Linked DNA regions of Homo sapiens: regions 1, 2 and 3 are each linked to region 4. The links are contacts of gene promoters, found by promoter capture Hi-C in blood cells and fetal thymus (Javierre and others, 2016). All regions are on one chromosome and are shown on one strand. Each heading gives the region's core, a stretch centred on a gene start or on the middle of the fragment in contact. The rest is flanking DNA. Distances are from core to core; before and after follow the strand shown.

Evidence for each region. Contacts are between HindIII fragments. The CHiCAGO score rates a contact against its expected background, and 5 or more counts as called.
Region 1: a contact is called between a fragment that was not itself captured here and the fragment with the promoter of MAT2B in region 4, in 1 of 17 cell types (total CD4 T cells). The highest score is 8.0, in total CD4 T cells.
Region 2: a contact is called between the fragment with the promoter of PFDN1 here and the fragment with the promoter of MAT2B in region 4, in 1 of 17 cell types (fetal thymus). The highest score is 5.9, in fetal thymus.
Region 3: a contact is called between the fragment with the promoter of GIN1 here and the fragment with the promoter of MAT2B in region 4, in 1 of 17 cell types (total CD4 T cells). The highest score is 5.5, in total CD4 T cells.

What each region holds. Positions count from the first base shown.
Region 1 is chr5:123,420,253-123,422,952 of GRCh38, reverse strand. It overlaps CEP120 (centrosomal protein 120), which reads left to right. Exons shown (of 20, transcript NM_001375405.1): 1 at 1-3. Among named protein-coding and RNA genes, the nearest start is that of CEP120, 1.8 kb to the left of the region's middle. RefSeq lists a silencer at 1-9 and an enhancer at 1-284. The HindIII fragment of the contact is 2,497 bases long and covers 58-2,554 here.
Region 2 is chr5:140,301,729-140,304,428 of GRCh38, reverse strand. It overlaps PFDN1 (prefoldin subunit 1), which reads left to right and starts at 1,328. Exons shown (of 4, transcript NM_002622.5): 1 at 1,328-1,388. The coding sequence starts at 1,356. RefSeq lists a silencer at 1,219-1,423 and an enhancer at 1,312-1,591. The HindIII fragment of the contact is 1,473 bases long and covers 928-2,400 here.
Region 3 is chr5:103,118,772-103,121,629 of GRCh38, reverse strand. GIN1 (gypsy retrotransposon integrase 1) reads left to right here and starts at 1,492. Exons shown (of 8, transcript NM_017676.2): 1 at 1,492-1,566. PPIP5K2 (diphosphoinositol pentakisphosphate kinase 2) reads right to left here and starts at 1,329. Exons shown (of 31, transcript NM_001276277.3): 1 at 1,142-1,329. RefSeq lists enhancers at 929-988, 1,039-1,228, 1,259-1,518, 1,354-1,854, 1,855-2,356. The HindIII fragment of the contact is 9,897 bases long and covers 1-1,534 here.
Region 4 is chr5:163,504,184-163,507,077 of GRCh38, reverse strand. It overlaps MAT2B (methionine adenosyltransferase 2 non-catalytic beta subunit), which reads right to left and starts at 1,459. Exons shown (of 7, transcript NM_013283.5): 1 at 1,329-1,459. The coding sequence starts at 1,391. RefSeq lists a silencer at 1,143-1,282 and enhancers at 1,453-1,572, 1,613-1,702, 920-1,726. The HindIII fragment of the contact is 7,455 bases long and covers 296-2,894 here.

The DNA.
Region 1 (2,700 bases), core at 57-2,556, about 40 Mb after region 4:
AAGGTGAGCAGCCTGAGGCTTGCTTTTGCAACTGCTGCCTCCCGAGTTTTAAAAGCTTAGTGTGGGACCGAGGCCTTGTTAACCTTAAGAACCCTGTCATCTGTGCTTTTGTGGTCCCCACAGACTTGTTCAAAGTTGTACGTAGTGAGGTCTGTTAGGCAATTGATTTAAAAATCTCTCCAGGGATATGAGCGCTATTAGGGATAAGTGATATTTAGCGTGACTAGCCGTAGCCCCAGAGAATCTAGAGAAAACGATTTTCATCCAAAGCAGCACGTCGATGGCTTTTATATATGAGCTGAACGTGGTCCTGAGAAGCGCGTTCTGATCAGCGGTTCCCAATAATAGCACTTGTAAGAGCTTTGACTTGAATACAGGCTTCCTGCGATTCCAGAAGTGTTCCGGAGGCAATTCCCTTTACACGTCTTGCTGGAGGACTCAGGGGACTACAGTTCTTAAGAGGGTGTATTATACATTCCTTAAAAGGTGTGTTTTGGATGAATGACATTGGTTTATTGGGACTCATTGAGTGTCAGACACTGTGCTGGGAATGTAAGAATGAAACAGTCCTGATTCTAAAAAGCTAAGGATGTAGCAAGGAGAGTGTGTCAGCAAATAATTCATCAGGATGTGGAAGACCCTAATGAATGACCACCTCTGTCTAAGGAAACTGCGGAAGTTTCACTAGAGGAGGTGGCATTTTTTGGGGTCCTACAGATGATTAGGAATTTGTCAGGTGAAAAAAGGAAGGGCATTCCAGGCAAAGAGAAGAGCAGGGAGCACTTAAAGTATGGAAAAGCAAGACACGTTTTGCCTTGCTTAATTAAATTCACTCAGTAAACATTGGTTAAATTCAGTGTGGTTGGAGAACAGATTTGCAAGAAAGTGGAGGGCATAGGAGATAACAGGTGAATTGAGGACACTTTACGAATAGTATGTTAAGAAGGAGTCATCTTGAGCCAGAGCAGAAGCCTGGCTGCATTTTTTCCCCCATGGGAGAGTGTTTTATAAAGGCCTGGCACTGTGTGAGGGATGAGAGCAAAGGAAACATTGTAATCCTAATCTTTGAATTTTGGAACAAGAGACTGACCAGAAAAGCCATAAAGATTTGGAGCACTATTAACTGTTAGTTTACTTATTGTTTAAAAACATAGGACTGAAATAACCTTAAAATTTGGTTAACAACAGTTTTTAGACTTATAACTGACCATGCTATGAGGAAACAAATACCTCCATTCCCTCCAAGGATGTAGAGGTCTGTCCACGTGGGGAGATCACAGGACACAATATGTTGGGGTATAATATTTAAAATATGTGATATGTACTGTAAATATAGGTTTGAGGGTAGGGTGGGTGGGATGGCTGAAGTTCTTTAAATAATAAGTGAGCTTTAGATATGTGACAATAGAATTCTATGGACAACCCAGGCCAGTCTGACAACCCAGGACATAAATGCAATTCATTTGGGGAAGCTAGTTTTAGAGCAGCAGAAAATGAGGTCCTGAGAGAGGCCTGTTAGTGCTAATTGGGAGAGCTGTGCGATGTGTGTTAATATTCCTAATACAGAGTTTCAAGTGAGAGCCTCAGGCTTAAACTCAAAAGGTTAGCAGTCAAGGTCTTTCTGACCAGCTTGATTCCCAACCAAGTAGCTTGTGCCGGGGTGAGCATGGTGGGTGGAACATTGAAAAGATCAGCAAGATGACCAGGGTAGAGGAAGGTGAATATTTAGAAATGTCATGGTAAGAAATGAGCTTGTACAACTGGAGCGAATAGGCCTCAGAGGATCTTGAAAGCCAGTTTAGAATTAATGTTCCAAGAAATAGGTTGGCAGCATATATTCCTAAATAGAATGCTTTTCTTGAGTTCAGTTTAGTAGCAGTGTGCAAGGAAGAGAACCTGGAGTCAAGGATGTCTGTTAGGTTGTTTCCACAAACATACCCAAAACTAGCATGTGGTCCTCCCTCCAAACTATTCTTCTCTCTTGTTCGTACTGTATTTCCATTCATCATAACCATGCTGTTGCCTTAAGCCAAGAACCAAGGAGTCATCCTCAGCCTGGATTCACTCTCCATTTCTAACTTCCAAATGGTCATCAAGTATAATTGATTTTATTTTCTGAATAATAATAGATTCTACATACGAGTTTTTGAATGAATGAGTTTACATTGTGAGTGCCTTGGTAAGGGGCCCTCATTATCCACCTAACTTACTGTAATAATCTTTTCAGTAGTCTGATTCTTCAATGTTTTCTTCCTTTCCAGAAACATCTAGACTTCCTCCTTTACTCCCTGGGGATGATCTTTCTGAAATGCAAATCTGATTTTCTTAAAGTCCTTCAGTGTCCTAAAGGATAATGTCTGTATTTCTTAGAATGGCATACATGGCCCTTTGTGGTAGACCTCTTGCCTACCTTTTCAGTCTCATTTCCCCTCATGTATTCTCATCCCTTTGGCTTGGTGGAGGACTCGGGGGACTACAGTCCTTAAGAGTTAACTTGCAATTTCTTGACTACACTTTTAGAAATGCCCTTTATTTAAAAGAAAATGGTTAAGCTTTTACCATGAACAAAATTTGGGCTATGTACTAGATTCCAAGGATGAAAAAGACCATTTCTGTTATCTCTGTATCATTGTCTGCAGCAAGGCAGGCATCTGTTTGTTCCCTTCACATCCTCTGTTCTCAAGCTTGTTGGAAGCTGCT
Region 2 (2,700 bases), core at 79-2,578, about 23 Mb after region 4:
CGAGACCCTGGCTCAAAAAAAAAAAAAAAAAAAAAATGTGGCCGGGTGCGGTGGCTCAAGCCTTTAATATCAAAGCACTACAGCACTTTGGGCGACCAAGGCGAGCGGATTGTTTGAGCTCAGGAGTTTGAGACCAGCTTGGGCAACAAGGTGAAAACCCGTCTGTACAAAAATATAAAAATTAGCTGAGTGTGGGTGGCGCGCGCCTGTAGTCCCAGCGCTACTCACGAGGCTGAGGTGGGAGGATCGCTTGAGCGCGGGAGGTAGAGGCTGGAGTGAGTCGTGATTGCACCATTGCACTCGAGCCTGGGTGACAGAGCAAGATCCTGTCTCAAGAAACAAACAAACGTACAAAAAAAAAAAAAAACCCCACAAAATATCCAAGTGACTTGCTTAAAGTCACACAATTAGTAAATGGAACCAGACATAGGCTAAAGGCAGACCAAGCCTTGAATCTAGATTAGGCTGGTTCCAAATTCCCTGCCCTTTCATCTCCCTAACAGTTTGTTTTCTTTCTCTCTTTCTTTCTTTTTTTAAAAAATAAAATAAATTTCCTAATTATTTATGTAGCACTTTCTCTTAGCATAACAGTTTTTAGAGTAGGTTAACTTTTTTTTCCATTTCCAAAAGTCAATTATTATCTATTCTGGTTCAAATGCCAGGTCCTTTTATGGCAGAGATTCTCAAAAAAGTGATCCGCGGAGGAGTTGCACCATTAGGTCACTGGGGTAGTCTGCAAAAGTGCAAATTTCCAGACCCCATTCTCAAAGATTCTGAGTACGTTTGAGATGAGACCCAGAGAACCTGCATTTTTTTGTTTTTAAACAAACGTATTCAGCCTCTCTTGAGAACCACTGTGCCTAGAATGTCTTTGGGAAGCTTTTGGAAGTAATAAGTTCGTTTTGGAAAGAACACTCCAGACAAGCTTTCCAATAGTCTTTCCCAAACTGTCATGCCTGAGGTTCTGGACTTACTCTTACTCATTCCTGAGAGCACAGCGACTAGCTGAAGGACTGATCGACTGATGAGGGTTTGACCTCATCTACATACATCTCAATTTAGCAGCACATATTAAGCTAGCTGGCAAACTGCTTAAAGCCACATGGGAAATCTGCGCGTTGGGCTATGTCTGGAAGATACGGAGGAGCAAGCCAGACCTGACCGGTCAGGTAGTGAAGACACGGAATCCGAAACCCAAATATTTCAGGAGTCAATTCTCAGAGAAAGATAAGAAGCCCGGTTAGTCCAACTCATGCGCAGGCGCAGAAGAAAGACCGGCGCACAAAGTAAGACGCGCCCTTCCCCACCCTATTTCAGTCCAACTCCCACTGCGCAGGCGCTTACAGTGCACCAAGATGGCCGCCCCCGTGGATCTAGAGCTGAAGAAGGTAAAAGAGGGTCTTTGGCAGGCGGAGGTCTTCTTTTTGGAGGCTGAGGGGACTATAGACAAGAATATCAAGTGAGGCACGAGCCTTGCAGAAGGAAGGAGGGTCCAGTGGACTAGGGAATGGTTTCCCAGAGTCCTAAGGCCTCACTGGGTCTCCATAAACGGGGTGGGGGGCGAGCGGCTCTTGCTGGGTAGGAGCCGGTTGGTCTGGGTCGGGTAAGTCTGCGGGCCTGTCTCGGGCTTGTCCAGTCTTTCTGAGCTCCAGAGACATTTCGTTGCGTTTGGAGGCTTCAGGGACTCACTTTCATAGTAAGAACTAAAGAGAGCATTTCAAATGGGGGTCCCTTCGGACCCCTTGCCTGAGCTGTGGCATCCGTAATTCTGCCTCATTTGCTTTGAAAAACTCCAAGTCCAACCTTTGTTTTTAGGCCATTTATTCGGTTCTGTACCTTGAAAGTTGCAATATCTACAGTTCGGAAAACCAAGCATTGTAGCAGCAATGTTCATTTCAGGATTTTGCCCCCCCTCCACTTCTTTTGAAGGACTCGTCAAACAAAACAAAACAAAACCTCCTTCTTTTGAAGGAATTGTCAAAAACAAAACAAAACCAGTAAAGTTTTCCAAATAAAACCGGTATCGGAAGGAATTGGGTTTCCTGTTTTCCTCAGTTGCTTATAAATGTGTTGTTATTCAGATTTTTGCTATCTAAGAATGATCAGCATTCTAACACCACTAATGACCCCAAACCAGTATGCTTTGTGCGGTGGGGTGGATTGGAAAGGACCCTAGAATTTATCTATTTTAAATCTACTTTTCTGGAAAAGGAACCAGTGCCAGAAAAGTCTGTCAGAAGTTGGGACTAGAATCCAGTATTCTCTGCCTTATCTCACACTTTTTTGACCACTATTTTGAGTTCTTCAGATGAGCAACATCTTAGTTAAGACTGCCTGTGGTCAACTTGTGTAAAAGAAATAGGACAGCCGAAATAGCTGTTGCTTCTAACAAATGAAGCTTTTGTTAGTGTTGTGAGGATATTATGTGTTTGTGTCTTGCTTTTGTTCTTCTTGTCTTGAATCTTGTAAATTTAGCTCTTAGGTGGAGTCTCTAATCTTTAACAGTATACTAGCTCATCTTTAATGGTATACTAGCTTCCTTAGCAAGCTGTATAGAGCAGTCAGATGATACCTGGAATTTTACATTTCAAAACAAAATTGTGCATTCTAAAAATTTACCTTTTCTTCTGTTAAAAGTACCGATTTAAATCAGGGTTTAGTGAATGGATTTGCCTCCCGGTACTTTTGAATTTATTGCTA
Region 3 (2,858 bases), core at 243-2,742, about 60 Mb after region 4:
GATCATGTCTAACTTTTGTCAGACATATAAGTAGGTACACCAAAATTTTTTAAATGAATGGATACTTTCAGACACTGAAAATGTTAGTGAAGAAATTGAAATCGAGGAAGAACAGGACAGGACAATAGAATACAGATTTTGAAGGCAGACAGATCTGGTTTTTAACACAGATTCAAACGTTTACTTATAACAAATGTTTAATAGAGCAAGTTGCTTGACTGTTCAAAGCCTCCATTTCTAACTCTGTAAAATGGTGATAATAATCTAACATACCTCCTGGAATTGTTGAGAGGAATAAATGACAAACTATGTAAAGCACTCGGCACACATAAGACTCAGTTAATGGCAACTATCGTTATTATTTTATCTATCTGAGACAAAAAAATTATCTATTTCATTTAAGAATTCTCAATAGCAAAACAAAATCCTGTCCCAGTGTAGAGCGAGGATTTTACGTGCTAAGGTCAGCTATGCTTCCCACTTCCACAGTTAAGCCTTCCAGCAAGACAACTACTAGCCAAAGGACACCAAGAGTCGCAATCTCCCAGGAAGTGGTCAAGAACCTCGTGAATGAGATCCAGGGATCATCACCCTGGCCCCTTCTTCTTCAAGGCGCAGAAGGCTGCAACGACCTCCAAATGACTAGGTGCGGCAGTGCCCTGCAGCCTCGGTCCCTACTATGAAAAGCTGCAACACATGAGGCTTTTGTTATTTTAAAGTGGGTGTGGGGTTGACAGAGAGAGGGATAAAGACTAAGGCAGAAAATTTTTTAAAAAGCCACCTCTACCCACAGCAGTCCCATAACTCGAGGCTAATCACTTCAGTGGAGCCAGGCACAGCGTGGGGTAGAAGCTCAGCGGTTCCCTTTTAGCTGATCTTCAATTTCTGGCGTCTCGAACCCAAGAAATGAAAAAGGGAAGCCATGGGGGAGCAGGAGGAGAAATCAAGGCGCGAAAGGACCCTCAAAGCTGTACTGTCACTCCACGCCCAGGCTGTCATTCTCTCCAGCACAAGCCCCTCGGTGGAGCATGTGTTTAGGGTCTGCAGAGCACAGGAGACAAAGCAGAAGCCCAGCAGCCGCCTCAACCCTGGCATGATCAGGTTCCGCATCTCCGGTTCTCCTCCGGTTTTGGGCCCTCACCTGCCACGAATGCGGTCGTCACGCGAGCAGTTGTGAGATGGTCAAGCCCATTCAGGTCTAGGTTACCCCCTTTCATCCCGGAGGCAGGGGTGAGGTGTTTGTCAAGAGACTTCAGTTGTAGGCGTGGACGTAGGCTACTTCCTTCAGTAACAGCTATAGGGCCACATAAGGGAACCTCAGGCTACTACACCTCAGGAATCTCCGTCACGCCTCTTCCCCGCCCTCCTCGGGTCTCACGCCGAAACCTCACCGGGCGGAACGATTTCCGGCAAGAGCCAAATGATCAGTCCTAACCTTTCTGACCGTGGTTCCAAGGTTCCCCAAAGGACTGCCCTCTAAAGGACCCGGGTAGTTCCGCTTCCGGCAGCGCGAGATAAATCACGAGAGGAAGCTTAAATCTGTCGTTTGAATTTAGGACCACCTCGGTGAGTGGTCGTTCTGGTGTGCTGTGTCATACCTACTGTTTTTTAAAGTGAGGCGTAACCCGACAGTAATTTCAAAACCATTCGCCTCGACCGGCCTAAGGAAGGGTTTAATTGAGTCTGTGGGGAGATTTTGCGCAAGCGCCTTTGAGATAGGAGGGCCTTGGGCGTTGCGATGTCCCGCGCTAGCTGAGCAGAAAGGGCGAGTGCTGTTTCGGGCCTGGGGAGGTGCCTACTGGGTGTAATTGAGTTTTACCAAACGGTCATTTTCCTGCTGATTCTGAGTGTGGTTGGACCTTGCCCTTAAGATTCCGTTAACGAGTCGCCCAAAGCTTAGGAAATGCTCCCTCACAGCGTTTGAGACTAAGCACTTTTGGCCGGCGTTGAAGAATTCTCCCCATTACTTTGATCAGTCATTTAATCAGAAATTTTGCCCCAAATTTAAATACGTGGCGGGGAGAAACGTGAGGTCAAGAGGGAATCCTGTCACGTAGTTTTAAAAGAAAAATGTCCACTTTATCTCAGTGTAGGTTTTTCTTAAATGGGCATTTCTGAACCAAAGTAGATACTTTTTAAAGTGGAAATGCATTTATCCCATGTGGCTTCATGTGAATGCATATGGCGATGAAGGCATTTTTTTGTTCAATGAATTTGTACTCTGAAGTGAACCAGATTACAGAGAAGTGTATTTAAATTTACAGGTCCTTGACGTTGCATAAAATTGTGCGTGTCCATTTTTTGGAGCTTAAAATAGAATAATTCAAATGTCAGAATTCCGATCCAAGTTAACATGTTGATTGAAAATTGCAGATTTTAAGATGGAACCAGCGGGTATTATAACCTTTTAGGGGCTTAAATTGGTGGCTTTGTTTTTAACCCTTGGTGAAACAGTTAAGTCCTAATCTTGACATAATACCTAACTGCCTTACTTTATTGAACACAAAATTATTAAAGGAATTAAGCAATGAGTTGATTTTATTTGCTTTTATGGAGGGGACAAAGTGTATAAAGCTTAACCAAATGTGACCCTGACATTCCTCTTGCAAAACTACAAGTTGTAATCAATCACTTTCATTTTTTCTTATTCCTACATGTTTAAGTACATTAAGTAATGATTTTAAGAGAAATTCTTGAAAATATGAGCATATCCAAAGAAGTCCCAGGACAGTCTTTCTTTATGTAGTAGAAACCACTTAATCCCCCTTGTAAATGATACCTTTACTTAGCAATCAGAGTATAAGAAGATATTTATATTTGTCTCGAATATTACAGTTTCAAGCCATTTTCTCATATGT
Region 4 (2,894 bases), core at 210-2,709:
CTGGGCTTTACTTTTTAAGATTCTCTGACTACTTAGGTGGGATTGGTCTAACTTCTACTGCGACGCTACTGTGCTCCACAGACAGTATTACTAACAACAACCACTCCAGGATGCTTCTCTAACGTTAACTATGAGACAGTTCTCGTTCTCATGAGTCAGTAAGCTTTAATTCTACAGGTTTTGAGAGCAGTAAGTCTGTGCCAAGCTCTTCGTTGTTTCATTTTTAATGAAGGAAAACACGAAAAGCTATTTTCATTTTTATACTGAACTTCTTTTTGTGAAAGTAGATTAAGCTTTATATGCACACGTACACATACAAATGCATACATATAAATGTAAACGTATGTAACATGCACTCAGCACGGTCTGGAGGACCTAGGAACATAGAGGTTTAATAGACCATTTATCCTAACTTTACCCTCAAAGAACCAAAGTGATTTGAAAACCCTAAGTAAATTTGGAAGCATGAAAACTTTGCAATAACAGAAACAGCCATCTCCTATATTCTCTACTCTCTCCAAAAGACATGGTCTGGGCATTAGTAGTGTTCTTATCCCCAGGGTTGGATATGTTCTGTGGACAGATTAATGCTGGAGGCCCTTAAGTGGAATGGAGCAGGATGGGACGGGGGCGAGGGGGGCACCAGAGATGGATCTTCCAATCATCACCATAATCTTCCTTCAGGGAAACTCCGTAGTGGTTCAAAGCCCAAGACAGTCACACAAACCTGTATCTGAATTCCAGGCTCCAACCTTACGGAATGAACCTGGGCCAATGTCTCACCCTCTATGCCCGTTTTCTCGTCTACAAAATGAGGCAATAACAAGTATCTCACAGTGGAGGATTAAAGTAATGCCCGTCAAGTGCATAACATAGTGCTGAGAACTTAAGAGTTCAATAAGTTGTCATCTCCAGCACTGTTATTTGTGAGAAGTCACCTTTTCCTGTTCTTTCTCAAACCTACGAACTTGTAAGATCGAGAAATACGAACCAAAGATGAATAAACGGGGAAAACCAAAATCAAAACAAACAATTCTGAAAAACCTCTTCGTCCTCAGGAGCAGAGACAGAACTCGAAAGTAAAACCTCCACCTACTTGCTTCCTGCCGCAGTGGCTGGAAGAAAAAAACACTGACCCGTGTGCGCTGAGATAAACAAACTCGGTGGCGCCCCCCTCGGATCCGGGGCTGGGAGGGTGGCGGTGAGACCACTCCCGGCCGGAGGCTCTGACCCGGGCGGAATACGCCTGCAAAGCCGCCCGAGCCCCGGTGGCTCGTCCCCCTCGGCGCCCCCGCTCCCACCGGAGACGCCCAGGCCGACTCCCTCACCTCCACCAGCCGACAGCTCCCGGGAACAAAGTGTATAGAGAGCTCTTTCTCCCGCCCCACCATGCCCGCCGTCTTCACGCCGCAGCCTCAGCGGCCGCCACCTCCTCCAACCCAGGATCGACGCGGGCCTCAGCTCAGACGCCCTCGGCCCGCCTCCCCTAGGCCCAGAACGACCCCGCTCGCCGCTTCCGGCTTCCGCTGCCATAGCCGCGCCCGTTGATTGGCCACGCTCCGCCGACGCCCCAGAAAGAGGGCGGGTACGCGCGGTCTGCCCCCAGCCCACGCGCCGATGCTTAAAGCGACACACAAAAGAAAGGCCCTGACCTTAGGCAGTGAATTCAGGTTTTGTTTCGGAGATTTTATTTGAGTGCTTTTTATTCTACTTTTTTTCCTTTTTTTCTTGACTCGGGAAAAGATTGAAGTGGATCGCCTTGAGTTTCAAGTTTGCAGACTGCGCAGTGCATGAGGATCGACTGAGCAATATAAAAAGTGGAATAAAAAGCATTTTAAAGTCATGGGGGCGGGGGCGGAGGTGGGTAGAGCATAATGGACACATCTCTAGAGCTCTAGGTGGGGGTTTTGAAAGATTTAGAAAAAGACAAGGAATAAAAATAAAAGGGTTGGCGTCTGAGCCATTTGTCTTCCTGGGATGCTTAAAAAAAGAAAAAACCTGTGTGTGAGATATCAAAAATGTAAAACTATTTTTAACTAATTAAAAATAAAAAGTTGTAGGGGGAAGGAAGATGAACTACTTAGGTACCTCTTCAAAACGCAGATCCTTGGACTTTACCCATAATTACAGAACAAGAAACGAGCCCGGGGTCCGACTTCTTAATGGGTTTAACCAGAATCAAGCCCACTCTTTAAGAAACACCGCCTCGGGGATTGCAGGATTGGGCCACACGAGCCCAGCCTTGGTGAGCACCGAGAATTTAAGCAGCAGCGTGTAAGGCTGGGCGTTCTACCACCTTTTAAAAGTTAAGCAGCCCTAAGTGCTGATGCCGACTTATTTCCCTTCCAGTTAAAAACCGCAAAAAATCCTCAGCCAGGCTGGACGCCTGTGAAATTGATGCAGAAAGTAAACCCTGGCACAGGCCGTGTAGGATTTGCCAACTTTGCACCGAACAGTCCAAGGGTTCTTGTGTGCCCAGGATAGCAAGCTCTAAACGTCGTCCACAAACGTGACCACTGTCTGGATTTTCCTAGGGCCTTTCCCCGACTCCTAAACCTTTTTGGTTTATTTTCAAACTAAAGACTAAGCAGCCTTTTAAAGAAGTTTTCCACGTCAGAACACCATGACTTTCCTTCCTCCTCAACCCCCAACAAAAACTCATTTCCTTATTCGTGTAAACATAAAGTTTCTCTAGAACAGTAATCGAAGACAGCCTGAGGTTTCTTATGTTCCGATTTTTTTTTTTTTTAAACACAGGCTATTACTGTTCATTAGTTTGGCTTTATTTAGGGAATCCTTGAGGACTGCCCCAGCGCTAAACAAGCATAATCAGGGGACAACAAAGAAGAGGGCGGGAAGAGGGCCGGGGGAGCAGCCAAGATCATCTTACTACT